Linked DNA regions of Homo sapiens: all the other regions are linked to region 6. The links are contacts of gene promoters, found by promoter capture Hi-C in blood cells and fetal thymus (Javierre and others, 2016). All regions are on one chromosome and are shown on one strand. The core of a region is centred on a gene start or on the middle of the fragment in contact, and the rest is flanking DNA. Distances in the headings are between cores, read along the strand shown. Region 1 holds the start of RASL11B (RAS like family 11 member B). Region 2 overlaps SCFD2 (sec1 family domain containing 2). Region 3 overlaps SCFD2 (sec1 family domain containing 2). Region 4 has its middle 290 kb from the start of USP46. Region 5 overlaps SCFD2 (sec1 family domain containing 2). Region 6 holds the start of PDGFRA (platelet derived growth factor receptor alpha). Region 7 overlaps SCFD2 (sec1 family domain containing 2).

The links. Contacts are between HindIII fragments. The CHiCAGO score rates a contact against its expected background, and 5 or more counts as called.
Region 1: a contact is called between the fragment with the promoter of RASL11B here and the fragment with the promoter of PDGFRA in region 6, in 1 of 17 cell types (monocytes). The highest score is 5.2, in monocytes.
Region 2: a fragment that was not itself captured here is called in contact with the fragment with the promoter of PDGFRA in region 6 in 1 of 17 cell types (naive CD8 T cells); the score reaches 5.1 in naive CD8 T cells.
Region 3: a contact is called between a fragment that was not itself captured here and the fragment with the promoter of PDGFRA in region 6, in 2 of 17 cell types (endothelial precursors and fetal thymus). The highest score is 6.9, in endothelial precursors.
Region 4: a fragment that was not itself captured here is called in contact with the fragment with the promoter of PDGFRA in region 6 in 2 of 17 cell types (total B cells and non-activated CD4 T cells); the score reaches 7.5 in total B cells.
Region 5: a fragment that was not itself captured here is called in contact with the fragment with the promoter of PDGFRA in region 6 in 5 of 17 cell types (erythroblasts, fetal thymus, endothelial precursors and 2 more); the score reaches 9.2 in erythroblasts.
Region 7: a contact is called between a fragment that was not itself captured here and the fragment with the promoter of PDGFRA in region 6, in 2 of 17 cell types (endothelial precursors and erythroblasts). The highest score is 6.2, in endothelial precursors.

What each region holds. Positions count from the first base shown.
Region 1 is chr4:52,860,473-52,864,135 of GRCh38, reverse strand. RASL11B (RAS like family 11 member B) reads right to left here and starts at 1,819. Exons shown (of 4, transcript NM_023940.3): 1 at 1,487-1,819; 2 at 812-868. The coding sequence starts at 1,628. It overlaps LOC124900700 (a long non-coding RNA gene), which reads left to right and starts at 1,931. Exons shown (of 2, transcript XR_007058115.1): 1 at 1,931-2,052; 2 at 2,405-2,987. RefSeq lists silencers at 1,500-1,794, 1,766-2,255. The HindIII fragment of the contact is 3,261 bases long and covers 1-2,514 here.
Region 2 is chr4:53,168,789-53,172,614 of GRCh38, reverse strand. All of the region lies in intron 4 of SCFD2 (sec1 family domain containing 2), which reads left to right. Among named protein-coding and RNA genes, the nearest start is that of SCFD2, 200 kb to the left of the region's middle. The HindIII fragment of the contact is 1,094 bases long and covers 1,499-2,592 here.
Region 3 is chr4:52,984,298-52,987,931 of GRCh38, reverse strand. All of the region lies in intron 5 of SCFD2 (sec1 family domain containing 2), which reads left to right. Among named protein-coding and RNA genes, the nearest start is that of SCFD2-AS1, 59 kb to the right of the region's middle. The HindIII fragment of the contact is 1,380 bases long and covers 1,461-2,840 here.
Region 4 is chr4:52,365,001-52,368,781 of GRCh38, reverse strand. No RefSeq gene overlaps it. Among named protein-coding and RNA genes, the nearest start is that of USP46, 290 kb to the left of the region's middle. The HindIII fragment of the contact is 612 bases long and covers 1,045-1,656 here.
Region 5 is chr4:53,005,313-53,008,936 of GRCh38, reverse strand. The region is part of intron 5 of SCFD2 (sec1 family domain containing 2); the gene reads left to right. Among named protein-coding and RNA genes, the nearest start is that of SCFD2-AS1, 80 kb to the right of the region's middle. The HindIII fragment of the contact is 2,017 bases long and covers 262-2,278 here.
Region 6 is chr4:54,227,944-54,231,940 of GRCh38, reverse strand. It overlaps PDGFRA (platelet derived growth factor receptor alpha), which reads right to left and starts at 2,648. Exons shown (of 23, transcript NM_006206.6): 1 at 2,526-2,648. RefSeq lists an enhancer at 3,350-3,997. The HindIII fragment of the contact is 8,996 bases long and covers 1-3,510 here.
Region 7 is chr4:53,025,119-53,028,580 of GRCh38, reverse strand. All of the region lies in intron 5 of SCFD2 (sec1 family domain containing 2), which reads left to right. Among named protein-coding and RNA genes, the nearest start is that of SCFD2-AS1, 100 kb to the right of the region's middle. The HindIII fragment of the contact is 3,708 bases long and covers 1-3,462 here.

The DNA.
Region 1 (3,663 bases), core at 570-3,069, 1.4 Mb after region 6:
ACTGTAACTTTGTATTTTGGCCGTTAGATATAATGGCTTGCTAGACAAATACTGTTAGTAAACACACAGCCAATGTTATCAGTTGGAATAAAAATGTGATATAATTATAATCAACTCTACATCAAATCAGAAGGCTGCCATGTCTTATCTTGGGATAGCTTATACAGCTCATTTCAAATAATCCCCTATAGGTACTCATATGGTCTACAGAGTTAAGCAATTTGCTAACAGAGCATAGGCAGAAAGCTCTTAAGCCTCCCCAGTGGCTATTCTTAATCATAAGGATTGAAAAATGTGTCCTCTCATTTATTCGGGAATTCTCCTCCTAAAATTCTACCATCCAGTTGTTTGTCTTTGTTAAGAAGGAGGAACTTTAGGTTTACAACTGCTCTCCTTTGGCCTTTGCTTTAAAAGGTCACCTCTGAAAGGCAGCCAGCAGAGAAGGAGAGGGGTGGGGGAAGGAGCTAGGGACTCCTTTTTTTTTTTTTTACGACTTTTGCAGGAGTGTTTTGAAGGGAGAGGTTCTTGACTACAAAGGGTGCTTCCAACTGGGGTCACTATAGTTAAAACATACCAAGGGGAATACTTTCAGGCACTTGATAAAATGATGAATGGGCTTGGAATGGAATGAGGCCAGATGGTAGTTATGGGAGGGGGGCGCCATGGAGGGCTGGGGACTGGGGAAAGTTTTAAGTGGCGGGATCCTCAGGCTCGGACTGTCACTGAAAGAACCTCCCTGGGAAGCGCTGGAAAATGGGAACCGCAGTCCTCCTGCAATGGGACAGAATTTTTCTCAAATGCATTGTCTCACCTGCATTTCTTTCATAGTCACCGATGAATCGTTTGGTGAGGAACCGGACCACCAGTGCTGCACGTCAGAAAAAAGAACGTCAAAGTGTTAACCTTGGAAGTTAGATTGTTCTCCACCCCACCCCCTGCCTGGAAAACAGTTCTCCCAAAGAAAGCCATAGATGGCCACCAAGTGAAATTCCTACCCTGTAGCTCCTTGACCCTTCTTTCCAGACAAAAAGGAGGGGGCTAGAAGGCATCGTGAATTATGGCTCTGTGCAGCTGGAAGGCTCACTGGGCCCACCCCCTCCTCTGAGCCCGGCTGAGCCACACCTAAGCCTTCCAGTAGACCCATGTCTTCCTAACCTTCAAGACCTCCCAGGGGGGCTAGCTTCACTAACTCCCCTTTCTGTGCCAGGCATTGCCAGAGGCTCAAACACCCCAAAGTTCTGATGGCGGCGGTGCCGGTGGTCCCCAGAAAGCTGCCTGGCCATTCTTGATCCTTGTTTCCCCCGTCTGTGGAAGCAGGCGGGTGGCGTAGACAACGGCTAAGCCCACTCCCAAGGGGCAGCGGCTCCCTGCGCGGGGACGGAGAGCGGTCGGGCTGCAGCTCCCACCGCTCCCCACGCCTTGTTCAGCCTCAACTCCCGTCAGGGGTCGTCCAAGACCAGACCCAGGGCTAAGCGCGACGACTCACCGGTCTTGCCCACGCCGCTGGCGCCCACCACGGCGATCTTGACCAGGCGGCGGCCGGCGGCGCCCACACAGCAGTCGGAGGCCGCGGCGTTGCCCGGCGCGGGGTACTCGGCGATGGTGCACATGTTCTGAATGAGGCGCATCGCCTCGGCTGCGGCGCACCGCGCGGGAAGGGACTGAGGGACTGGAGAATGCTAGCGCTGCGCGGGAGCGGGCGGGAGGACCCGACTGCGGGGCTCCGCGGTAAGAAATAACAACAATAAATAAGTGCAGGTACGGGCGGGGTGGGGCCGAGCGCCGAGGTTCCGCAGGGCTCAGGCTCCAGACCCAGACTGCACTCGCGCGGCGCGCCGGCTGTTTTCTCCGCGGCCGGCCCCGCCCCCTCTCCCCACAGCCAATCCCGGGGCGCCCTACACGAGGCCCCGCCCCCGGCGCCGCTCCGCGCGCGCGACGCCCCCGGAGGCGCCTGGAGTCAGTGCGGAGCCCCGTGAGGCGCGGGGAGAAGAGGCAGCGGGCGGAGGGGAGCAGCGGGTGGTCCGAGGCGGCGCAGCCCAGGGTGGGCGCCTGGTAGGTCCTGCCGCGCGAGCATGGGGCAGCTGCTGTGGCTGCGGGGCCAGGAAGAGAGCGCAGCCTCCACAGAGCCATTCCGGACCGCTGCCTCCGCCGGCTCCACAGCCCACGCGCGCACTCGCTGCAGCCCCAACCTAGGGCGTCTGCTCTGGGCGGGCCGGGAGCGGTGTTTGCTCCCCGGCTTAGTGCCGCCCGCCCTGATTTGGAGCGATTGCACTGGCTTGGGTACATCCCAGCTCATAGATTCAGCTACAGTTGGCAATCATCCGCAAAGACTCCAGCCTAAGACCTTTAGACCCCCGTAAAATGTGACATTTGAAGCAAAAATATCATCCACGTTTTATCCTAGACCCACGTTCTCTGGCTCTTGTCGACGGCGCAAGCTAACGCAAACACACATGGTCGGACGCATGCACAGCACGCCTAGAAGCGGATCAAGAAGTAATTATAGAACAAGCTTTCCAGCGCCTCACTCAGTCACACCTCCTTCAAGAGCTGTGAAATGGAAAGAAAACAGTTACTCCAGCTGCGACGTCTGAAGGGGCCCCGCACTTCGTCCCTGGTCATAAGACACCGCAAGAGTTTAGTTAAGTGGCTTGATACCAAGGAAGAGGTGGGCCCTGCACTCCTAAAATCCCAAGCTCCGGCCCCTTACAGTCTCATCTGAGAAACACATCTTCAACGGCAGGCCAAATTCCTCCTGCGAGCAACATTCTGTAGCTGCAGCTGATGGCAAGATGTCACCAGCGGCTGATGGCAAAATGTCACCAGAGTCGCGGGTTAACCACCCCATCCGCTATCCAAGGCCCTCTCCCCGCTACCCTTTCAACCTTGTCCCAGAGGCTTTTATGTTGGGGTATGGCAACAAACTCTGTGGCTTTGTGTACCCACCCACATTAAAGGCTAAAATGTGAAATAAACCAGTGCCCTTATCCGCACATGTCAGTCATCTAATTTGACCCCCTCTTCCAGCCAGAACTTAATTGACCAGGTATTTGACAGAATTTTATGATCCTCAGCCAGTTCAGACTCTGAGATGAACCTCTTGTCTACAGAGGTTTAGGTGTTTGCAGGAATGCAAGGAGAAATAGAAAGGTAATCTCAAGGTAGCAAGTTTTCTAGGATGGGCCACGTAATTAGAAAGACACACAACCTTACAATAAACATAATAAAAGGCTGACTTCTAGGGAGATCACTAGAACGAAACAGCCATTTGAGTCAGAAAGAAAAAGCATTTCCAATATGCACCATGTCTTTCTGCATGGTTTAAATCAGACTTGAATGTCACTTCTATAAAATCAAACTTTGCAAGACTGTAATTACAGGTAACCATGTACTTTTAAAATCTTTCCCCTCCAAAAAGCCTGCTATTCTATCATGCTTACATGGTAAAATAATGATGTAGGCTAAAGTACTAGTTTAACATACACACACACACACACACACACACACACACACAGAGACATGACAAAAGCTGTCAAGGGGAATTTTGCTTTGAATCATTTAGTTTCTTGGGCTTGATTTTCATTACCATAAGCCCATACAAAACCCGTGATTTTTCTGTCTGCAACGCAAAGGCTTGATTTGGTGTTCTTATTTTAGATCTAA
Region 2 (3,826 bases), core at 796-3,295, 1.1 Mb after region 6:
TCCTGACCAACCAATGGGTCAAAGAAGAAATCAAAACAAAAATGAAAAAATGTCCTGAGAAAAATGAAAGTGGACAAACAATATACCAAAACTTAATGGATACAGTAAAAGTAGCTCTAATAGGGAAGTTTATAGCAATAAACACCTATATCAAACAAAGAAGAAAGATCTGAAATAAACAACCTAATGTTTTATCTCAAGGAACTAGAAAAGAACAAACTAAGCCAAAAGTTAGCAGAAGAAAGGAATTAACAAAGATTACAGCATAAATAAATGGAATAGAGACTAAACAAGCAATAAAATCAATGACAGGGCCAGGTGTGGTGGCTCACGCCTGTAATCCCAGCACTTTGGGAGGCTGAGACAGGCAGATCACAAGGTCAGGAGATTGAGACCATCCTGGCCAACAAGGTGAAAACCTGTCTACTAAAAATACAAAAATTAGCTGGGTGTGGTGGTGCGTGCCTGTAGTCCCAGCTACATGGGAGGCTGCAGCAGGAGAATCAGTTGAACCCAGGAGATGAAGGTTGCAGTGAGCCGAAGATCACACCACTGCACTCCAGCCTGGTGACAGAGTGAGACTCTGTCTCAATAAATAAATAATAAATAATAAATAAATAAATAAAATAAAAATAAAAATAAATAAATAAATAAATAATCAAATCAATGACATTAAGAGCAGATTTTTTGAAAAGATAGCTGAAATTGACAAACCCCTAGCTAAACTAAGAAAATGAGAGAGAAGATTAAAATAAAATCAGAAATTAACGAGAAGACATTGAAGGTGATACCACAGAAATACAAAGAATCATAAGAGATTACCATGAACAATTATACAGCAACAAATGGGATAACCTAGAAGAAACTGATACATTCCTAGACACATACAACCTACTATCATGAAGAAATAAAAAATCTGAACAGTTAATAACAAGTAAGAAAATTGAATCAATAATAAAATCTCTCCCATCAAAGAAAAGCCCAGGACCTGATGGCTTTATTGCTGAATTCTACCAAACATTTAAAAAAGAACTAATGCCAATCCTTCCCAAACTCTTTGAAAAAATTGTAGAGAAGGGAATAATTCCAAACTCGTATCTTGGTACCAAAGCCAGAGAAGGAAATTACCAGGAAAGAGAATAATAGGTTGATATCTCTGTTGAACACAGACACAATCATTCTTAACAAAATGCAGTAGTAGCAAACTGAATTCAACAATATACCAAAAGGATAATTCACAATGAACAAGTTGGATTTATCCCTGGGATGCAAGCATGGTTCAATATATGCAAATCGAAAAATGTGAAATAGCACATTAACAGAATGAAGGTTAAAAACCCTATGATCATCTTATTAGATGCAGAAAAAACATTTGACAAAGCCAACATCCTTTTACAATAAGAACTCTCAACAAATTAGGTCTAGTAGAAGGGTACCTCAACACAAGAAAGGCAAGCTCACAGCTAACATTTTACTCAGTGGTGAAAAGTTGAAAGCTTCTCTTCTAAGGTCAGGAACAAGACAAGGATATACACAGTCACCACTTCTATTTAGCATAGTACTGGAAGTCCTTATCAGATCAATTAGAGAAGAGAAAGAAACAGAAGGCATCAAAATAGGGAATAAAGTGAAATTGTCACTGATTGTTGATGACATGATCTCATGTATAGAAAACCCTAAAGATTTCACTAAAAGCTGTTAGAACTAATACATGAATTCAGTAAAGTTGCAGGTTACAAAATCAACACAGAAAAATGAGTAGCATTTCTATACACCAACAGCTAACTAACAGAAAAGGAAATCAAGAAGACAATCCCATTTACAATAGCTATAAAAAAATACCTAGGAATAATTTTATCCAAGAATGTGAAAGATCTATTCACTGAAAAGAATAAGACATTGATGAAAATAATAGAAGAAGACTCAAATAAATGGAAAATTATTTCACGCTCATGTATTGGAAGAATTAATATTGTTAAAATGTTCATATGACCCAAGGCAATCTACAGATTCAGTGCAATTTCTATCAAATTTCCAATGGCATTTTTCACAGAAATAGCAAAAACATTCTAAAATTCATATGAAACAACATAAAAACTCAAATAGCCAAGACAATCTTGAGTAAAAAAGAACAAAGCTGGAGGCGCTGCACTACTTGCTTTCAAACTATTTTACAAATCTACAGTAATTACAATAGCATGATACTGGCCTAAAAATAGATACATTGATGGTTGAAACGAAATAGAGAATCTAGAAATGAACCAATGCATTTTCAGAAAATTGATTTTTGCCAAAGATGCCCAATCCACACAGTGGGAAAAAGGATGGTGTCTTCAATTAAAGGTGCTGGGAAAACTGTGTATCTCATGCAAAAGAATGAAACTGAACAGTTTTGTATATCTCACACCATATACAAAAATCAACTGAAAATGAGTTAGACACTAAATGTTAGACCTGAAACCATAAAATGACTACAAGAAAACATGCAAGAAAAACCACACTACCTTTGTCTGGGCAATGAGTTTCTGTATTTGACCCCAAAAACTCCAGCAACAAAATAGATAAATAGGATTACATCAAATTAAAAAAGCTTCTACATAGTAAAGGAAACAATTAACAGAGTGAAGAAGCGACCTAGAGAGACTGGGAGAAAATATTTGCAAGCCATGCACTGGATACATCTGTAATATCCAGAATATTTAAGGAACCGAAACATCTCAATGGTAAGAAACAATCCAATTAACGAATGGGAATGGGACCTGAACAGATATTTCTCAAAAGAAGATATACAAATGACCAACAAAGAAAATGAAAAACATGCCCCAAATCACTAATCATTAGGAAAACAAGTTAAAACCACAATGAGATATGATTGTATTAGAATGGCTATTATTAAAACAACAAAAAAAGATGTGTGGGCGAGGATGTGGAGAAAAGGGAATCTGTACGCACTGTTGATGGGAATGTAAATTCATACAGCCGTTATAGAAAACTATACAAAGGCTCCTTAAAATATTTTGAATTACCATATTATCCAGCAATACCACTTTGGGTATATATCCAAAGCAAACGAAATTGCCATGTTGAAGAGATATCTGCACTCTCATGTTCATTGCAGGGTTATTCACAGTAGCCAAGTTATGGAATCAGCCTGCATGTTCATCAATAGATGGACAGATAAAGAAAACATGGTATATATGTACACAATGAAATACTATTCATTCTTTTTTTATTTTTTATTTTTTTATTTTTTGAGTCAGAGTCTCGCTCTGTCACCCAGGCTGGAATAGAGTGGTGCCATCTCGGCTCACTGAAAACTGCCTCCCAGGTTCAAGAGATTCTCTTGCCTCGGCCTCCCGAGTAGCTGGGATTACAGGCGCCCAGCTAATTTTTGTATTTTTAGTAGAGATGGGGTTTCGCCATGTTGGCCAGGCTGGTCTTGAACCCCTGACCTCAGGTGATCTGCCCGCCTCAGCCTCCCAAAGTGCTGGGATTACAGGCGTGAGCCACCACGCCCGGCCTATGCATTCTTAAAAAAGAAGGGAATCATTCATTTGCGACAACATGGATGAACCTGGTGTACATTATGTCAAGTGAAATAAGCCAAGCACAGAAACAAATACCACATCATCTCACTTATATGTGGAATCTAAAATAACTGAACTCATAAAAGCAGAGAGTAGAATGGTAGTTATCAGAGACTGAGGCATGGAGAGAATGAAGAGATATTGGTCAAAAGATACAAAGTTTCAGTTTAGACAGGAAGAATATGTTTTTTGAGATCTGTTGCACAGTGTGGTGACTATAGTAATACTAACATACTATA
Region 3 (3,634 bases), core at 901-3,400, 1.2 Mb after region 6:
ACACCCATTGCTTGTGCTGTCTCACTTGCAGTTCCTCCACATGGGGGAAATGACACCCTAGCTATTACAGTGGATCAGTTTGATGAGAGGGAATTGCATTGCGGCGTTTTATGTGTTGTTTTATTTTTGTGGATAGCAGAATAGTTGTGTGTACCATTGCCATCTCAGTTAACAATGTAAAAAGCACAAAAATAAGTCAAGTAAATGAAAAAAATCAAGATAAATGAATCTGAACAGAGATACTACTGCTTGGAGTTAGTTCAGTGAAGAACTTATCACATATTCTGATTTACAAGAGGCTCTGATGATAATGGCACATTGCCAGTCCTCTACTCTCCCCTTTCTTTGGTGAAATGGCTCACCTTTCCATGAACTCTGTTTAAAGAGACACTCCAGAGGAGTCTGTACTCTGGAGACATCAAGGAAAAGGAGATGAAAAGGAGAGCAAGATCTAGAAAAGCATTGTTTTGAGGCGGAAAGTTTGTGAAGAAAGGAATGGCCATTTGAAAATGAAAGTTTACTCATTTATATTTTAGAAAAACAAATGATATTAAATAACTACAACAAAAGAAGAAAGGGAGTGACACATAGGTCATTTATTTTAAAAATCTTTTCAGGCCGGGTGCGGTGGCTCAACCCTGTAATCCCAGCACTTTGGGAGGCCGAGGCGGGCGGATCACGAGGACAGGAGATCGTGACCACGGTGAAACCCCGTCTCTACTAAAAATACAAAAAATTAGCTGGGCGCAGTGGCCGGCACCTGTAGTCCCAGCTGTTCAGGAGGCTAAGGCAGGAGAATGGCGTGAACCTGGGAGGCGGAGCTGCAGTGAGCCAAGATTGCACCACTGCACTCCAGCCTGGGCGACGGAGCGAGACTCCGTCTCAAAAAAATAATAAAAAAAATCCTTTCAAACTACTGTTATTTTGCAACTAAAAATTATAGAACATTATGTATCAAGCTCTAAATTCTCACCAGGGCTGAGCCACATGAAACTCCCATTTTATAGATAAAAATGTTCAAATATTGTCAGTATCATATGGCTTAGAATCTTAACCTCATTTACCACAACTACTGAATTCTTTCTTGTAGTCTAGAAATTTAAAAACTTAAATTAGGTACTTTAAGAATCCCATGCCGAGCGCAGTGGCTCACACCTGTAATCCCAGCACTTTGTGAGGCCGAGGCGGGTGGATCACGAGGTCAGGAGATCGAGACCATCCTGTCTAACATGGTGAAACCTCATCTCCACTAAAAATACAAAAATTTTAGCCGAGCGTGGTGGTGGGCGCCTGTAGTCCCAGCTACTCGGGAGGCTGAGGCAGGAGAATGGCGTGAACCCGGGAGGCGGAGCTTGCAGTGAGCCAAGATCGCACCACTGCACTCCAGCCTGGGTAACAGAGTGAGACTCCGTCTCAAAAAAAAAAAAAAAAAAAAAAAAATTTCATGAAGATCCTAAGCTTGAGATGAAGGTAGTGTCTTTCTTCTCTCTTCATCCCCTGTAACACCCAGCCCACAACAGTTGCTGAGAGAATACTTATTGACTTCTATCACAAGCTCAGAGTAATTTTGAACTTGCACCGTCATTATTAGCCACAAACGTTGCAGAATTAGATTCTTATCATTGAGCTTTCCCTTAATACCCAAAGTGGAGGATACAAGTTTTAAAATCTTACATATACTCGATGACTATTAAAAAAAAAACTTTACCCTTTTTTCCCCTCTAAATTGCTCAGGGAACGGGCAGAGGGAAGAAAGGTGGGGAGGTAATTCTCACGGGGCAAAGAGGCTCAGCTCTGGAGGGAAGAGGTGGAAGCCAGCCTCCAGCCCCAGGCACCTACCAAAGCCAGGGAGCCGGTTAACATGAGATCTGCTTGACTGCGACGTCACAGGGGGACAGGTGCAAAAACAGAATATGTAAAGGAATTGTATGCTAATTCTGTCCTCTCAGTGTCTTCGAAGAAATTATTTCCTGGCGATTTGTTCAGCACTTAAAAAAAAATGTCCATATACCCGCACCTCACCAATCTACCCATTCTCTTTGGTGTTTTTCTTATCTGATTGGAAATTTCCTAGTACATGTAGGGCTTTGTTCTAAGAATAGGTGAACACAGCTGGAATTGCAGTGTCATCTGTTGCATATTTGGAGAGACTTTCAAAAAAACTTGACCTTAACCTGCTAACTTCAACCCAGAATTCCAGACAGATATTTGGACCTTCTAAAATCATAAACATTTGATATTTATATTCCTGGACTAATTTTTTAAGCAAAAAATTTGCATCTGGCCTTTTGCAATCTTCCAAAGGAAGTTTTTCAGATACGTCTGGGGGTGTGATTTCTTAATAGAATAAAACTGCCATGGTTTTATAATATGCTGCTATATGGTGCTAGAAACCTCTCCAAAACACCCTCAAATTTATCAACACCAAAATCCCCAAAGATACAAAGATGATATTAGCATTTTATTATAAATGCATTTGGGATCCTCAATAACTTGAAAGCCTTCTATTTTAGCATTAGAATGAAACATAATGCTAATTAATAAATAAGGAGCTAAGCATGGTGCCAAATGAAATAAATATTTACTGGAAATAACCAAAATGACTTCACTGCAGCAGAAAGGTCCTAAAACTGTACTCAGAAGAATGCTGGCTGTTTCTGTGTTTTCACTAACACATGCTGAATACCATGTCCCACTCTTCATACCTGGGAGGGAGCAGGGCAAGGATGACCCTTACTGCGAAGGAGCAGTCACACAGTCAAACAGTATTAAATAAGTATTTTATGATCAATACCCTTAAAACCCCAAGAGAAATTTTAAAACTTAAATTGTCTGAAGCTTAGCTGTACAGCTCCCAATTAAATGAGCGAACTGTGTTTTTAAATACCCATGTCCTACTCAAAATTCCCCATAGCTTTTCTTTTAAAAGCTATAAAATGTGTTACTGGTGACAGAATTCAGCTTAATAAGTTTCAGTAGGTTTTGATAGTTCATTCACACTTTAGCTTATAAAAAGTGTAGGCAAGTAAGCAAAATCATTTTTCCTGTCTCCTGCATTATTGGAAAAGGTACAGAATCCAGCTGCATTTCATTAAAGTTGTTTTGGAAAGTTGAAGACAGCCCATGAGGAAAAGAGGACTCAAAATTAAATACTTGGAACCTGAGGTTAAACATTGCACATGGCTTTATGTGCCTCTCTCCCCTTATATTTGGATGACAAATGACTTCAGGCCTCTGCCGACCTAAGGATTTGTCGTTGATGATTCAACAAGAAGAACTACTTAGACTTGTTTAGGATTCATGGTGAACAGGCAGTTTCCCATTCATTCTATTATATAATGGTCACTCTTAGGTCACATATACACCAAAGGGGCCCTGGCTTCAGAGGAACTTAAACCTTTGTAAGCTCTTTTATGAGTCTAGTCCTATTGGAAAGCATTTGATTCCACTGTCAGTCACCTTGTGACTCTTTTGTTTCCCTGATAAATAATTAAAAGTGGGTTGGATCCTCATAGCAGTGTTGATAGAACACCCTTGACAATGATGGCTTTGTGGCACAGTGTTGAGGTCTTTATTTTATAGAGCAGCAGAAAAAGTTCCTATTAAAGACAACACTCAAATTCTTCACTTTGTT
Region 4 (3,781 bases), core at 101-2,600, 1.9 Mb after region 6:
TATCTGTAGTTTTGCTCTCCAAGATTTCAGTTACCCACTGGTACAGTTCAACAAAATATTTTGAGAGAGAGACCCCATTCACATAACTTTTATTACAGTATATTATTATAATTGTTCTATTTTTAGTTTTTGTTGTTAATCTCCTACTGTGCCTAATTTATAACTTAAACTTTATCATAGGTATGTATGTATAGGAAAAAGCATAGTATATATAGGGTTGGCTAGCATTCACAGTTTCAGGTGTCCACTGTGGGTCTGGAATGTATCACCTGTGGATAAGGAGGGACTACTGTATATTAAAACTTAGAATATTTTTCCAGCCAAAGTAAAGGCTTCATGTTAACTGATATTATCAAAATACCCATAGTGTATGTAAATCCAGTAGGTACTCAGGTGAATTATTCATTACCATGGAGGTACATATACTTTATATTAAAAACATGGTTTTTTCCATAATACTAGCAACGGTACTGCTTGTTCACTCCAAAGTATAAGATCTGTGGGCTGCAAGGAGTTTTTGTAAATTGCTGTATTTTTTTCAGGGCATGAAAAACAAGAGGATGTAATGTTGGAGAGATATGACAAGGCCATGAAGTGGATGGTTTATTAATTCATTTGTTCATTTATTTCTTCATTCATTTATCCACTGATTGATAGTGCCAGGCACATAGTAAATATTTGTTGATTAAAAGGATAAATAAAAATAACTGAATTAAACATTTTGTTTAAACAAGATTATGCCTCAACGAGCTTACAATCCAATGACTCACTATGTTTATTTATTGGAAACACACATGCACACGCATGCGTGAACACACACACACACACCCCCCCTTTAAGAGAGCAATTTTCTGACAGCAAAATAGAGTCTTCTGGTTTAATTGCTTTTTAATTTAAGCCGCAAGGTACATATGGATGAAAATTGCCCAGAGACATCTAAATTAACTACACTTGTTTATTTTGTTAGGTTTACAAAGAGTAACAGAAAATGAATTTCAAAATTGAGTCCAAATGTTGACCACCCAATTAGATGGAGTGTAAGCTTTTCTTCAGAGTTATAAATCACACAGGTCCCATGGGGGAAAGACGCTGCCCTTATGAAAGTGCACTGAGGCAGGGCTGTCCCCACAGGAAGGAGGAAGAGCCATCACAACTAGGCAGAGCTAATTCTATTTTGCACGTGTGCCTTTGGAAAACCAGTTGAGTGCTCCCTTATGACAAAGAAGAAAATGCTTGATGGTGTAGTGAATGCTTCATTCTTGGCCAAACCCAATCCCTTTCTGGCATGTTTATCTTGGTGGAGCAAGGATGAGGTTCACCAAGGTATGTGCACAGGTTCCTAGTGGATAATAAAACAGATGCTGAGGGTAAATGTCCTCCAGCATTCAAGTAATTCACTTGGATATGCAAACTGCTTTAAGTACACAAAGAGCATTTTAATGAATTTTTCCTGCTCCTAATCCCACAGTGTCATTATTTGCCTTATATTAATTACTTACTACAGCAGATTCAGCAATAATTTTTCTCCTGTTGTTAGAAACATCATTGAATTTTATTGCTAGCCTTGTGTGTTTGTTAATAACTACCTTGGGGAAAAACAGCAACACTGGACTAAGGTGTTTTCTTCCAGATTTTATGACTTACAGTCAGAAAGCTTTATGTCAATTGTAAGAAATATTTCTCCATTTTATTAAACTTGGGATTCCTTCAAGAAAATGTCACTGACCAGAATAAAATCCATTGTTGGTGCTAGGGCTGCTACTATTGTATGGGAAAAGATCAACATAGCAATGTCAGCTATTAAAGAAGGTAAAACCCATTCCATTTACTTTTCCATTATTTGCTAAGTGAATTCAGTTGTAACCGAAAGAGGTGATGGAAAAACAGTATGTTATTTCTCTCACTTGTGCAATGCTTGGCACTGGGGATTCATGGAGGCTTTAATGAGACCTTGAGGAAGGCGCTCAATGACTGTCTGAGCTGCAAGCCCTGTCACACTGGCTGCTGCACATTCTACGTCTTGCCTTGTTCCATCTGGCTGTGGACCCAATCTAACGCCTTGTAAAATAGATCTTTCCAGGAACACATGTTTCTTCTTTATGTTAAATATACAAGAAAGAGAATCAATTAAAGGAAGAAATGTTACTAAAACTGATTGTCTTTGAAGATGCTACATTTCAGAGAGGTTGTGTTCACCGATTAAGTAAAATAAAACAGTTGTCTTTGGGAGAGTCTATAAGGTTCTAAGGACACCATTAAGAGACTCTTTCTTGATATATGAAATACTTAATGGGTATGATTCTCATTTCACAAACTCCAGCATAAAAGAAAGAAAACGTTGCGCATTTTCTGTGATTCAACTTCATTTCGGATTCTGAACTATCATTCTGTTGGACTTACGTCAGGAAGGGTGGGATCTGGTTACTGAGGAAGGTTTTTGTGGGGAATGTTTTCCTACTCTTTTTTTCCAGCTTCATTGAAGTAGACTTGACACACAAAAATTGTGTATATTTAAAGTGTACAAGGTGATGATATAAATTGTGAAATGATTACCACAACTAAGCTAATTAACATATCCATCACTTTCCAAAGTTATGACTTTGTGTGTGTGGGGGTCGGGGGAAGAAGACTCAAGATCAACTTTTTAAAGGAATTTTCAAGTATATAATACATTGTTATTAACTATAATCACCATGCTGTACATTACAGCTCCAAAACCCATTCTTCCCACATAACTGAACCTTTGCACTCTCTGGCCACCATCTCTCATTTTTCACCCCTCTCCCTATTCCTTGGCAACTGCCATTCTACTCTCTGCTTATATGAGTTCAACTTCTTTAGATTCCAGATATAAGTGAGGTCATATAGTATTTGTCTTTCTGTGCCTGGCTTATTTCACTTAGCATATAACGTCCTCTAGATTCAACCATGTTGTCGCAAATGGCAAGATTTCCTTCTTTTTTAAGGCTGAATGATAGTCCATTGTGTGTGTGTGTGTGTGTGTGTGTGTGTGTATCACATTTTCTTTACCCATTCACCCATCAATGGACACTTAGATTGTTTCCATATTTTGGTTATTGTAGTAATGTTGCAATTGAACATGGGGTACAGATATCTTTTCAAGATACTGATTGTATATTCTAGTTTTAATAGCCCATATCTGAAGCATGGATTTTGATATTAAGTGTTGCAATTTAAGGACAACCATTGAAAAATCTCAAGGTAATTTTGGTACAAATATGATGCTATTTCAATTGATGAAAGTTTTGAAATTATAGACCTTTCTTCATTTCAGACAAAAATCTAAAAATAGGTATCTTGAGCTCAATAAAATTGCTTTAAAATCCTTTCTTCTATTCCTATCAACATGCCTCTGTGAGATTGGTTTTTTATTTATTTGTTTTTTTTTTGAGACGGAGTCTTGCTCTGTTGCACATGCTGGAGCACAGTGGCACGATCTCAGGTCACTGCAACCTCTGCCTCTCGGATTCAAGCGACTCTCCTGCCTCAGCCTCCCAAGTAGCTGGGATTACAGGTGCCCATCATCCTGCCTGGCTACTTTTTGTATTTTTAGCAGAGACAGCGTTTTGCCATGTTGGCCAAGCTAGTCTTGAACTCCTGACCTCAGGTGATCTGCCCACCTCAGCCTCGCAAAGTGTTGGGATTATAGGAATGAGCCACCATGCCTACGCTCGGCCTTGGTGTTTCTGAGTGCTGTGAAGTCAAATTTATATATATATATATATATATATATATCTTTTTTTTTTTTTTTTTTTTTTTT
Region 5 (3,624 bases), core at 21-2,520, 1.2 Mb after region 6:
CACCATCAAAAGAGAAAAGTACATAGAAGAAACTCATTTAAGTTTTGGCTGAATCAAGCAGATCGTTCTGCATGATAGTGAGATTATAGACAATTGGAAAGTACTTCTATTGAACTTTGAGGCCAGTCACATTCTATTAAGTTTCAGTTCATGCCCATTAAAATAATAGCAGCTGGATTCTATAGCTTTTCTCTGAAAACCTGGCTAAGCATTCAAGTTCAACAGTTTTGTAGATTTGTGCTTTTTTTTCTCTAGAAAGCTTTCATTATTTTGAAGAGCGTTTTATACATGCACCTCTCCATTCCCTGACCCTGGCTGACTTTTTACCCTTTCTCTTCCCCACCTCACTGAGCAAGTTTACATAGCTACAGTGTCCTTCCAACATTGTAAAGAGTTTTGTTGTTGTTGTTATTTATTGGACGTTAGGGAGAGCAAATGAATATGATAAGTTTAAAAACTAAGTCTTAGAATAGTTTTCTTTCTCTCAAGCACATTTTAGTTTCTTCTCCTTTTGCTTCATCTTTCCCATTGTGCTCATTATTCTGCCTTCTCCATGCTTCTCCATGATGCTCTGTGCCAGGGTGGGGAGGGAGAGGGGAAGGGGGGGTGTCATTCTACATGGACTGCACCAGTAGGCTCTCTTGCCCTATGGTTTCTGGATGGGATTGGCTAATGCAGAGGCATCAGCTGTAGGTTTTAAGAGGAGAATGAGGCCACCCTCTCCATGGAGCTGTTTTCTCTGTATTCTAGTGCTTCCTGCATGGGCTCCTTGGGCCTACGCATGACCCTGGACTACTAGCCCTCCACTCGTTAGTTTCCTTTAACCTTGCCCACATGTTTGTACATAGTCCTTTTATTCAACTCTCCTCAAATTACCTAGTTTGAGTGAGTTATCTGTTTCCTGCAGAGACTTTGACTGATGTACCCACCTTCCTGTAACCCTCTCCTTTTTGCTCTCCAGCCAGGAACATCATTCATTAGAGCCCAGCTCATGTTCATCTTCTTAAGGAAGCCTCTCTGTTCAGCATGAAGCTCTTCTTGAGATCTCCTAGCTCTTACAGTCTGCCACACTCATAAGCACCTAAAAATGCTCTCTCATGTACTGACTTAAATGCACTAAGACCAATGCTCCTCATGCTTATAAATAATGTTTCATGGATATGTAGGAAGGATGGCTAGTGAGTAGAGGTTGCCAATTGGCAGCCTGACTTTAGGCAGACAATTAGCAGTTATCAAACTTTGATAGAGTACTTCCAGGTGCTGTTAAGCCACACTTAGAGTTGGATACTATTATTACCTCCATTTTACAGGTACAGATGCTGACACATAGAGAAGTGAGGTAGATTGCCCCAGAACATACCTATAATAAGTGCTTGAGCTAGGATTTGAACCTAGACAGTCTAGCTCCAGAATCCATGCTCTTAACTCTGTACTAAGCTACCTCTCACAGTGCTTTTAAATTTTCAAAGCAACAATTATCAGTAACAAGTCTATCCTTCCTCCCTCCCTCCCTCCCTCCCTCCCTCCCTCCCTTCCTTCCTTCCTTCCTTCTTTCCTTCCTTTCCTTCTTTCTCTCTTTCTTTTCTCTCTCTCTCTCTCTCCCTCTCTCTCTCTCTCTCTCTCTCTCTCTCCCTCTCCCTCTCTCCCTCTCTCTCCTCTCAACAAGGTCTTACTCTGTTGCCAAGGCTGCAGTGCAGTGGCACAATCATGGCTCACTGTAACCTTAAACTCCCGGGCTCAAGCAATCCTCCCCTCAGCCTTCTGAGTGGCTGGGACTACAGGCACGTACCACCATGCCCAGCTGATTTTTAATTTTTTTTTAGAGACAGGGTCTCATTACGTTGCCCAGGTTGGTCTCAAACTCCAGACCTCAGGCAGTCCTCCCACTTCGGCCTCCCAAAGTGCTAGGATTATAGGCGTGAGCCACCGTGCCCAGCCCATATTTCATTTTAAAACCTGCATTTCTAGTGTCTCTTGAAAAAATGGAAGATCTGGCTGTTGGGATCCATAGGCCACAGCAACAGTTGGCCAGAGCAAGCAGGAGCTGCCCTGTTCAGGTGGGGTCCATGCCCTTCACTTGTGAGGGCCTCTACCCAGCCTGTTCCTGAATCCATGCTCCTTCCTGACTTCCAGAGGCCTTGAGTCTGGGATCTCTGCATGAAAATGAGTTTTACATGTGGTCTTTGGAAATCACTTGCATGCCTTTAGTCATTTCCCACATGAACTTCTGTTTCCCCAGCTAGATTAGGTTTAGGGAGGACAGTCTATATTTTAAGCTTGCCTCAAAACCTAAAACAGAACAGGTTATACTCAATAAAAAACCTGTGAATTTGAAGAAAACAACCTGCTTCAGTTAACTAAGTAAGCTATTAATAACTTAGGTAACTCAGCAAGGACAGGAGAGGCATGTTTATTCTTGGACTGGAGTTTATCCCTTAAAGCAGTTTGCTTCTAAAGCCAAACAAGTAAAATCTCTGGGTATTCTTGAAGATAGCTGCTATTGGCAATATTGCCCCTATTTTTGATGAAAGGCGAATATCTACTTCACCTCCAGGCCCAATGGTGTGAAGTTTGTAGGAGAGAAAACAACCACTGCTTCAGAGAGCTATGGTAGAGGGGAGAGCCAATTTTAGGTGGAGCAAGGTGAAAGGAAGTTTCAAAGAAGTTGAGAACATAGAGGCTTTTGCTGGTGATGGACATGAGTCCAGAAGGCACAGTGATTGGGGGCTGGGCAAGGGGAAATGGAGGGAGAGCAGGAATTTTCAGAGCCCATCTTGGGAACAGGAGTGATGAGGAATGACTGGGTCCCTCTGGTGACAGATGTACAAAGGGATGCATGACATGCTTTTGATGGTCCTGATGGTTCCCAAAGCAGATTGCAGTCATGAGGCAGTGAGGGTTGAAGGAGCGTCAGGAGTCGGGGAGGGAGAGGTTTGGCCAGGAACACACACAGTGCTGGGTCCCCCTCCTTCCTCTTTTCTCCTGGAGTGTGGAGTGGAGTGCATAACACTCAGTAGGGCTTATTAAAGGGCAAGTTCTCCAGTTAGTACAATGAAGTATGTGGCAGAAAACCCTGTTGGTGAATGTCGGCTTTACTTTTGTGAATGCACACTCAAGGTAGAAGGTTTCAGTAGAATCTAGATGTTATTCTAAAGCACAACTATGAAGCATGCTTCAGTCAGGATAAGAGCATATAATCCTTTTTTTAAATGTAATACTCTTTGTGTCTCTCTGATTGAATGTTTTATTGTTCCATCTTATTATAGCTTGACCCTTCTTTAAGGGGCCAAAGGACTTCAGGAAATAGATGCAAATTTAAGAAAATGAATCATCTTTCCCAAAACAGGAGTCTGTTTTAATGGAATAATCAGCCTTACTTATCGATGAAGGAACATGAAGATCTTATAGTGCTTACAGCTGTCTCTTTAATTTAATGTATGAGGAGAGGGAAACCTCACAAACTTCTCCTTATGAAAAAGTGGAAGTGGTTGAGGGTGCAGAATTGGCCAGAACTTGGGGCTCTTGTTCTTTGCTGAGCAGGGTCAAATGCCTGACCTCCGGGAGGCAAGCCAGGGGCTTTCCTATCAGCAGAGATCAGCAGTGGTGGGTTACTGCTGTTTACTC
Region 6 (3,997 bases), core at 1,399-3,898:
AGCTGGAAAGCCCGGCCCAATGCCCCTCCCCCTGCATCCCTCCTCAGTCCGCGTCCCGAGAGGAAACTGGCCCAGGGGCGCAGAGCTGGGAGCCTGGGATCTCCTTCAAGTCCTTCTCGATCTAAGGATTTAAACAAGAGCCAGGGCACCGGGGGCTAACGACGGGTTCATTCTTGGCTTCCCCTCACTCTTGTGAACGAGGTCCAGCTGCACTTGGGTCAACCCAAAACTGCAAGCTCCGAAGCAGGGCCTGACCAGGGCGTCAAAGCGAGCCTGGTCGGCCTTGCGCCTGTCGGGGAGTCGAGGCAGGGCCTCCTCATCTTGAGGGTTGTGGAAAGGAGGAGGCCGAGGAGAAAGGGAGAAGAGGGGATGCAATTCAGCAGTGCCGGGGTCCAGGTTGACCAGATTAGGGGTCGGGGATGGGACAGCGCGGCGGCTGGGGAGGTGCGCACGCCCGGAGAGCCCCTTCCTCCCCTCCTGTGGCTCCGGGGATGTTTGTCCGGTGAGATGCACTGCGGAGGACTGTCGTGCGTTTGCCCTGGATGCTCCCTGCTCCAAAAATCTGTCTAGTTCTTGTCAGGAGCGACCGCGGCGAGGCGAGTCGGTCCAAAACATTGAGCAATTTGGCCTCGGAGCCAAAAAGCCATTTCCCACACCGCCCAGCCCGCGGCTTTTCGGACGCGGGGCGGTAGGGACCTGATATGGGCCCCATCCATGCTTGCCTCCCACCCAGGAAGATGGAGTGAGTGGCAAGTTCTTCCAGGCACTCCTTGCGCACATCCTGAGGTCTTAGCACAATTCGGGGAGCGAAGTGCGGGACCGGCGCTCTGGCTGCGGGAGGGATGCACAACGCACAGCCTGCCAGGCCAGCAAGTCCTTCCCGACCAAGACGCGAGGCCAGGCCATCGGCAGCTCTCGCACACCTGGCCCGGCCCAGGCTCCTGGCTCCCTCTGGCAACGTACTCGGGTTGGGCCACACTCGTCGCTCCGACCTGGCCGACACCCTCCCGGAATAGAACAGCTGATCCCACATATTCAATGCCAAATGGACGCCGCCCGCTCCCTGGGCGCAGCCGGGCGGAGTTAATTTCGTGTGTAAATCTGGTTTCCATGGGGGTAGACAGCAGAGGAAGGAGAAGTACGCACAGACGGCTCTGAAGCCGGCAGGGAGAGGAATGGAAAAAAGGCCAACTAGAGAGGACCGAGCAGCGCTGGGCGAGCTCAGACGGCAAGTGCCACGCACCCCCGCGCGGAGAAGGGTGCCGGGTAGGGGGTGTCCAGGGCTCGGGTGCCCGGAGGGAGAATATGGTTTACCTCCCACCTTTCTGTCTTACCTGCAAACAAGTTTCCCCAGTTCCAAGTCGTCCCTAACTTCCTCACAAGAAGTTCGGCACCTTCCTGGAGACCTTTCCTCTCTTCCTGCCTGCGGCCAGAACTGAGCGAAAGCAGAGCCCCCGGGCAATGCAGAAATGATTCCACCGAGGAGGGGGCGCGGGAAGACAGGCGGGGGCGGGGGCCACGGAGCACAATGAGGGCCCCTTGGTGTGCGGTTCGAAATTCCTCAAATCCCAGTTGCTGGAATGCGAGGCGACGACGACTTCTTCACTCAGGGCCAAATGTGTTTGTCATTATTCCAGACCGCCCGCCCGCGCCGCCGCTGTCGCCCCCGCGCTAGGGCGTGCAACCCGAGCACACTGCCCGGCAGGCACCCGCTCTCCCTGGCACCTCACTGACCCAACAAACCGCTCCAGAGCGCCCCAAACCCTTGCCCACGCCCGCGCGCCTCTGCTTGTCCCGCAGCCGCCTCACCGCCGCGCCAAATCTGGCCCCGACTCTCTCCCAGAGCAGCGCCGTCCAGTAATCACGCGCATTCGGCCGGCTCCCTGTGCTGTAGGCCAACACCGAGGTCCGGTCTCCAGCCGAGCCCAGCCCGCCTCCTGCGCCCCGCAACCCCTTCGCGCGCCCCCCTCCACGCTCCCCTCCACGCTCCCCTCTCCCCACCTCCCCCTGGTCCCCCAGCCGCGCTCCACACCATGGGCTGCAGCGCTGTCCCGCCAAACCGCAGGCGAGGAATGAAAACACTCATTTAAAACCTGTCGCCTTCCAGGACCCACTGCCAAGAAGAGGGCAAACACCTCTGCCTCCACCCCCAGTTCCTTGGTGTTCGGCCCAGTATTCACGAACACCACCCCCACTCCCAAAAGAAACCTCAAAAATGTAAGCCTAAACAATTTCTTTGGGAGGCCATAGGGTTGTTAGAAAAACATTGTTTTTAAAAATAGGTCTGGAAAATGTGTGTTTAAAAAAAATACCTAGACTTTCTAACTCTATGGTTATCTCCCACCCGTCCCCAAGTGAAGTTTATTCCGAAAAAAAAAAATTACTCTCTGGACACACAACTGGAATCCAGCTCCTTTTTTTTTTTCTTGTCGCCCAAAGTTTGAAGTTACTTCGCTTTCTCCAGTCCCAGAGTCTGATCAGGGACTTCCCTTATAAACAAAAAATCATTTTTTCTTTTCCCTTACCTTCTCCTCCGATGTTATTCCGCAATGAATGTCCCACACATGGAGTAAAGAGCGTGCCCACGGCCTCCAATGATCTCTTGCAGTCTCCTCCTCTGTTTCTCTCCCTGTAGCTCCAACAGTAATGGGCTCAAAAACCGCGTTTTGTAATTGATTCAATGTTATAGTCCATCCTTCTAAAACTAATCATTTGCTCTAAGTAAATAGCTGTCAGGAAATAAGCCCCCCCTCAACCTTGGTCTCTTCAAAATAAAAGTTTCTCTCAAACTCCCTGCGCTCCGAATCTCCCAGTGTCCAGATTGCGCCTTCGCTTTTTGCTCTTACGCAATCAGGGGGTCCAGTCCCAACCCCCAGACTTCGACAACAACTGGGGGGCGGGGAGAAGCAGACCAGATGGGATGGGGGGTGGTGGAAGGGGGAGGTGTTGGTGCTCTGCCGGGAAAGAGGTTTTGTGAAACTACAAACAGCCCATCATTTCCAGAATGAGTTTGCCTCCCCATTTTGGGGTTATTTTCTTAGACTGCTATAGTTTTGTATTCTCTTTGAAAAGAAGAAAAGGAACATACAAAATTGCATTTAATACCCAGAGAGAATATAAATCTAGAATCAAGAAATGTCCCTTCTACAAACTCGGCCCAACGAGAAATAGGGCCCTCGGGAGAAATCTCCAAGCGGTTGCGCCGTTTTGAACTAGGGGTCTTTTAGGGGAAGGGCTATATAGTTGCTAGTTATTTAATAGGATTGGGCAAACTGTTGAGTCCAATATGACAATGATGGGTTTTTGTTTTGTGTGGTGTGTGTGTGTGTACAAGACTGGGTGGTCTGAAATACGGTACAAAGAAAAGAGGGTCTGTGTAGGTTTGGAACGTTCTCCGATAGAACGACCTTTACTCCCTTGAAGTCACTTATCTGGTCGTGCCTTTGTTTTCGGGGTTATCTGGGCGAGGTTGCCCTGGCTTCTATCTCGCATACAAAAAAAGCTCAAGCTTGGGCGTTTGAGGAATCGTACCACCGCCTCCGCGTCGTGGGGGAGGATGCCTTTTGATTCTCCCTCCGTTCCCTCCCGCCGCGTGGGTCGAACCCTACGAATTCCTTGGAATTGACAGCTGAGCCCCAAACCCTGCGCCCAAGGCGAGAGGCCAGTGTCGGGAGGAAACGATCCTGCCGGCGAGGGAAAGGGGGCGCTGATGCTCCAGGAACCAGACCTGGGCAGAGTGGGGCTTCCCAGCGACAGCGGGGGAGGGGAGCGCGTTCACCTTCATCGCTCTCTGATTTTTGAATTCTCCTGTTGGGGTTGGGGGTCATCCTTCATCCTTCTCCCTCAACCCCACCCCAACACACGCACTCTGAAAATGGCCAAAGTGGCCAGGTTGGGACTGGCATGTCCAACAGCCGTCTCCTCCTTCACCAGGAGGGTGGACACAGTGCAGTGGACAGGGGAGAGTCACAGAGAAGTACTCCAACGGGCGCGGTGC
Region 7 (3,462 bases), core at 404-2,903, 1.2 Mb after region 6:
TTGAATAAGAAGCACTCTATTGAATAAGTAGCATTGAGCCATAATATGAGGAAATCACCGAAAAAATAAGACATAGTTCCTCCTTGATTGTGTTGAACAGAGAACATATATCCATGGGAGAGAGAAGGAGTACTATAGTATGATTCACAAAGAATTAGCCTACAAATAATTTTACCTAGTTTTTCCAAGGTATGTTTATATTTGTTATCAATAAAATAAAATATTGGCAGTATTTTGTCTAATTTGACAACAAAAAGAATTTAAAGAATAAAACTTTAAGCATTTCTCTCATATTTTTCTTTTTCTCTTTTATTTATTTATTTATTTATTTTTTGAGACAGGGTCTTGCTCTGTCACCCAGGCTGGAGTACAGTGGCGCAATCTCTGCTCACTGCAACCTCCGCCTCCCAGGTTCAAGTGATTCTCATGCCTCAGCCTCCTAAGTAGCTGGGACTACAGGAGCCTGCCACCACGCCCAGCTAATTTTTGTATTTTTAGTAGAGACAAGGTTTCACCATATTGTCCAGGCTGGTCTCAAACTCCTGACCTCAAGTGATCAGGCTGCCTCGGCCTCCCAAAGTGCTGGGATTACAGGCATGAGCCACCATGCCCGCCCACATATATTTTTCTTAAAACTTTAATATTGCTACCATAGTCTATCCCATAAAGAAAAAAAAAATAAAATCTTAATTAGTACAAAAATGTACTTACTTTACTTTCTTTCTTTATTGTTTTTCTTTATGTATTTATTTAGAGATGGGGTCTCACTCTGTCACCCAGGCTGGAATGCAGTGGTTTGAATGCAGCTCACTGCAGCCTCAGCCTCCTGGGCTCAAGCGATCCTCCCACCTCAGCCTCCCGAGTAGCTGGGACTACAGGTGGGTGCCACCACACCTGGCAAATTTTTGTATTTTTTGTAAAGGCAGGGTTTTGCCATGTTGGCCAGGCTGGTCTCGAACTCCTGGTCCCAAGTGATCCGCCTGCCTTGGCCTCCCAACATGCTGGAATTACAGGCATGAGCCACCGCTACCAGCCTACTTTTTATTAAATATATGTATATTAATTGTTCATACTCTTCTGTAGATCACTCCCAGACTTCCAGGTGAAGAACTTAAAGAATTGCCAAAGTAACAAATGCAAAGAGTAGGTGGAGTTATAGACTCTTGGGGCTGGGAGAGATTTCTCTAATCACCCTATCCAAGGACGTTGGAAAACCAACACTGAGCAGGTCAGCCCACTTTACCTACATCACTGCGCAGGACACTTCAGAGCTGGACCAGTTCTTTCCTGAAGGTGCATCAGACTGTGGCCAAAAAAAAAAAAGAAGTGTGTGGGGCTGGGTAACTGAGCAGACCTCATGAAGGAGGGTGGACAAACAAGGCCTGGAAGGATGGGAAGAACAGGGTAAGCTGAGAGGATGTGTTTGCAGAACTCTGGAGTTTAGAACCCTTCAGGGAAAAAAGCCCATGGTTCTGGATGAGGCTAGCTCAACAAAAGACAGGTCTGTTCACTGATAATGTGGTCAATTAGGAACTTAAGGAGATTGTTACCTTGGTGTATATTAACTCTATCAGGTCACTAGGGTGACAGGCAATTCATTGCTGTTTCAAAACAGTAATTTGTACACATATCATTTGGCCAGAGAAGTTATACACTTTCACTAGCAGGGAAAAAACTGAAAGAGTTTAGTAACCATTGTCAACTTTGGAATTTGTCATTCTCCATTTCTTGCCTTTTCCTTTTAAGAAAAAATGATGGTTTGAATTTAAAAGTTTGCATTTTATGTTTTTTCTGCTTGCCCTGCACTGTATCCTATTAGAGTGACCTTCAAGTAATGGCAGTACTACTACTCTAGTTGTCTAGAAGTTATGGAGTATTTCAGACACCCAAAAGGATCTGGCTCCTAGAGTGATTGCCTAAAACGCTACATGATGATAAGCCAGTATGGATTTGCAGGGTTCTCACTGTAATTTTATCCACATGTCCCTAGCTGGCAAGATTAATTCAGCCCTGAAAATGCTAATCTTCAAACATGGCTCTGATATCCTTGTTTCCCATTTAGTGCATCATTTAAAAACTGGCCTTGTGGCTATGTTGCTGTAGCAGGACTGCACTAGGAAATTGGAGGCAGCATTCTTATCTCATGTTAAGTCATCTGTTTAGCCAACAAATACCTATAGAATGTCAACCATGTACCAGGCATTGTGCTAGGCGTCGGAAGCACAGTGATAACTCCTGCCCTGGTGGAACTTAATTAAGTTATGCCTCTAATTAGCAGTGGGCTCTGGGCAAGTTTTCCTTTCTAAATGCAGGACTTGGACTGGATATTCTTGAAATGTCTTTTACAATGGGAATATTCTACTCCTGAAAGCAGCGAGTTTCCTAGAATCTCTGAGTGGAACTGAGGGGCAATTTAAACAGTGTGGAAGAAACTCTGTAATCACAGTTTAACAAAAAGAATTTTAGTTTTTTCTGTGTCTTATTTTGTTGTTGTTGTTGTTTTTCTGGTGGTGATAGCTTACTTTTCTGGAAAATTGTATGAAATTTTTCCTGAGAAGGAGAAAGAAAAAAAAAATGAAAAACCGTAGTCATTTACATATCCATGTTCATGAAAGTACATAAGAACATAATTCAGTCTAAGTAAAAAGATTTCTTGAAACTTTTAACATATGAAATTATCCCTGTGGAAATCAAGTATGTTAGTTTTATACATGTATTTAACAGAGGTTACATTTTGACAAACTATTATTTAAAAATCCAGTCCATAAGATCCATGAGGTGACTCCAGTTAAATAAATGTTGTGTGTGTGCTGTGGTGCACAGCAGCAGGCCACAGGGGCCTCGTCCTCCAGGAGCTCACAATGTGGTAGTTTTTCCCGCATCAATTGAATAGCTTTTTCAAAATCTCTTTTTTTAACTCAAATTTTTAGCATTTATAATGGAAATATTCAGCTCTTGGATAGTCGGTAGATCACAACAGAACATGCTGAGATGGCATAAGAGTGAAAAATTAGCATAAGAGTCCTACTTGGCAGTGAAAAATTGTGCTTTGATAAACTGATAGAGATTGAGAAATAACTATCTGCCTACTGTGTGATCTCTAAATTGTACTTACTAGGCATTCTCCATCAGCAGCATGGAGAATATATGTTTTCTTTGATGTGTTTTTTGGTTTGGAAGTATCTATGTTGTTTGGCATCAATTAAACTAAAAGATGTTCTCATAGATTAACAAGAATGTTTATTTTAATGTTGATTTTCTAATTTCATTGTAAGAAGGATATCCCTATCTGTGCTTCATTCATGATAACTTGGAAATAAAGATATTTTTATTTGTATAAGTGTGATTTGAGAGTTTGAAAAACTGAATGTGGTATTATATGACCAAGTATAGATTTCTGTTTCAGATGTGGCCACCCAGAAGGGCTAAGCCACCTTCCCCTCTATTTCTTACCCCCTTCTT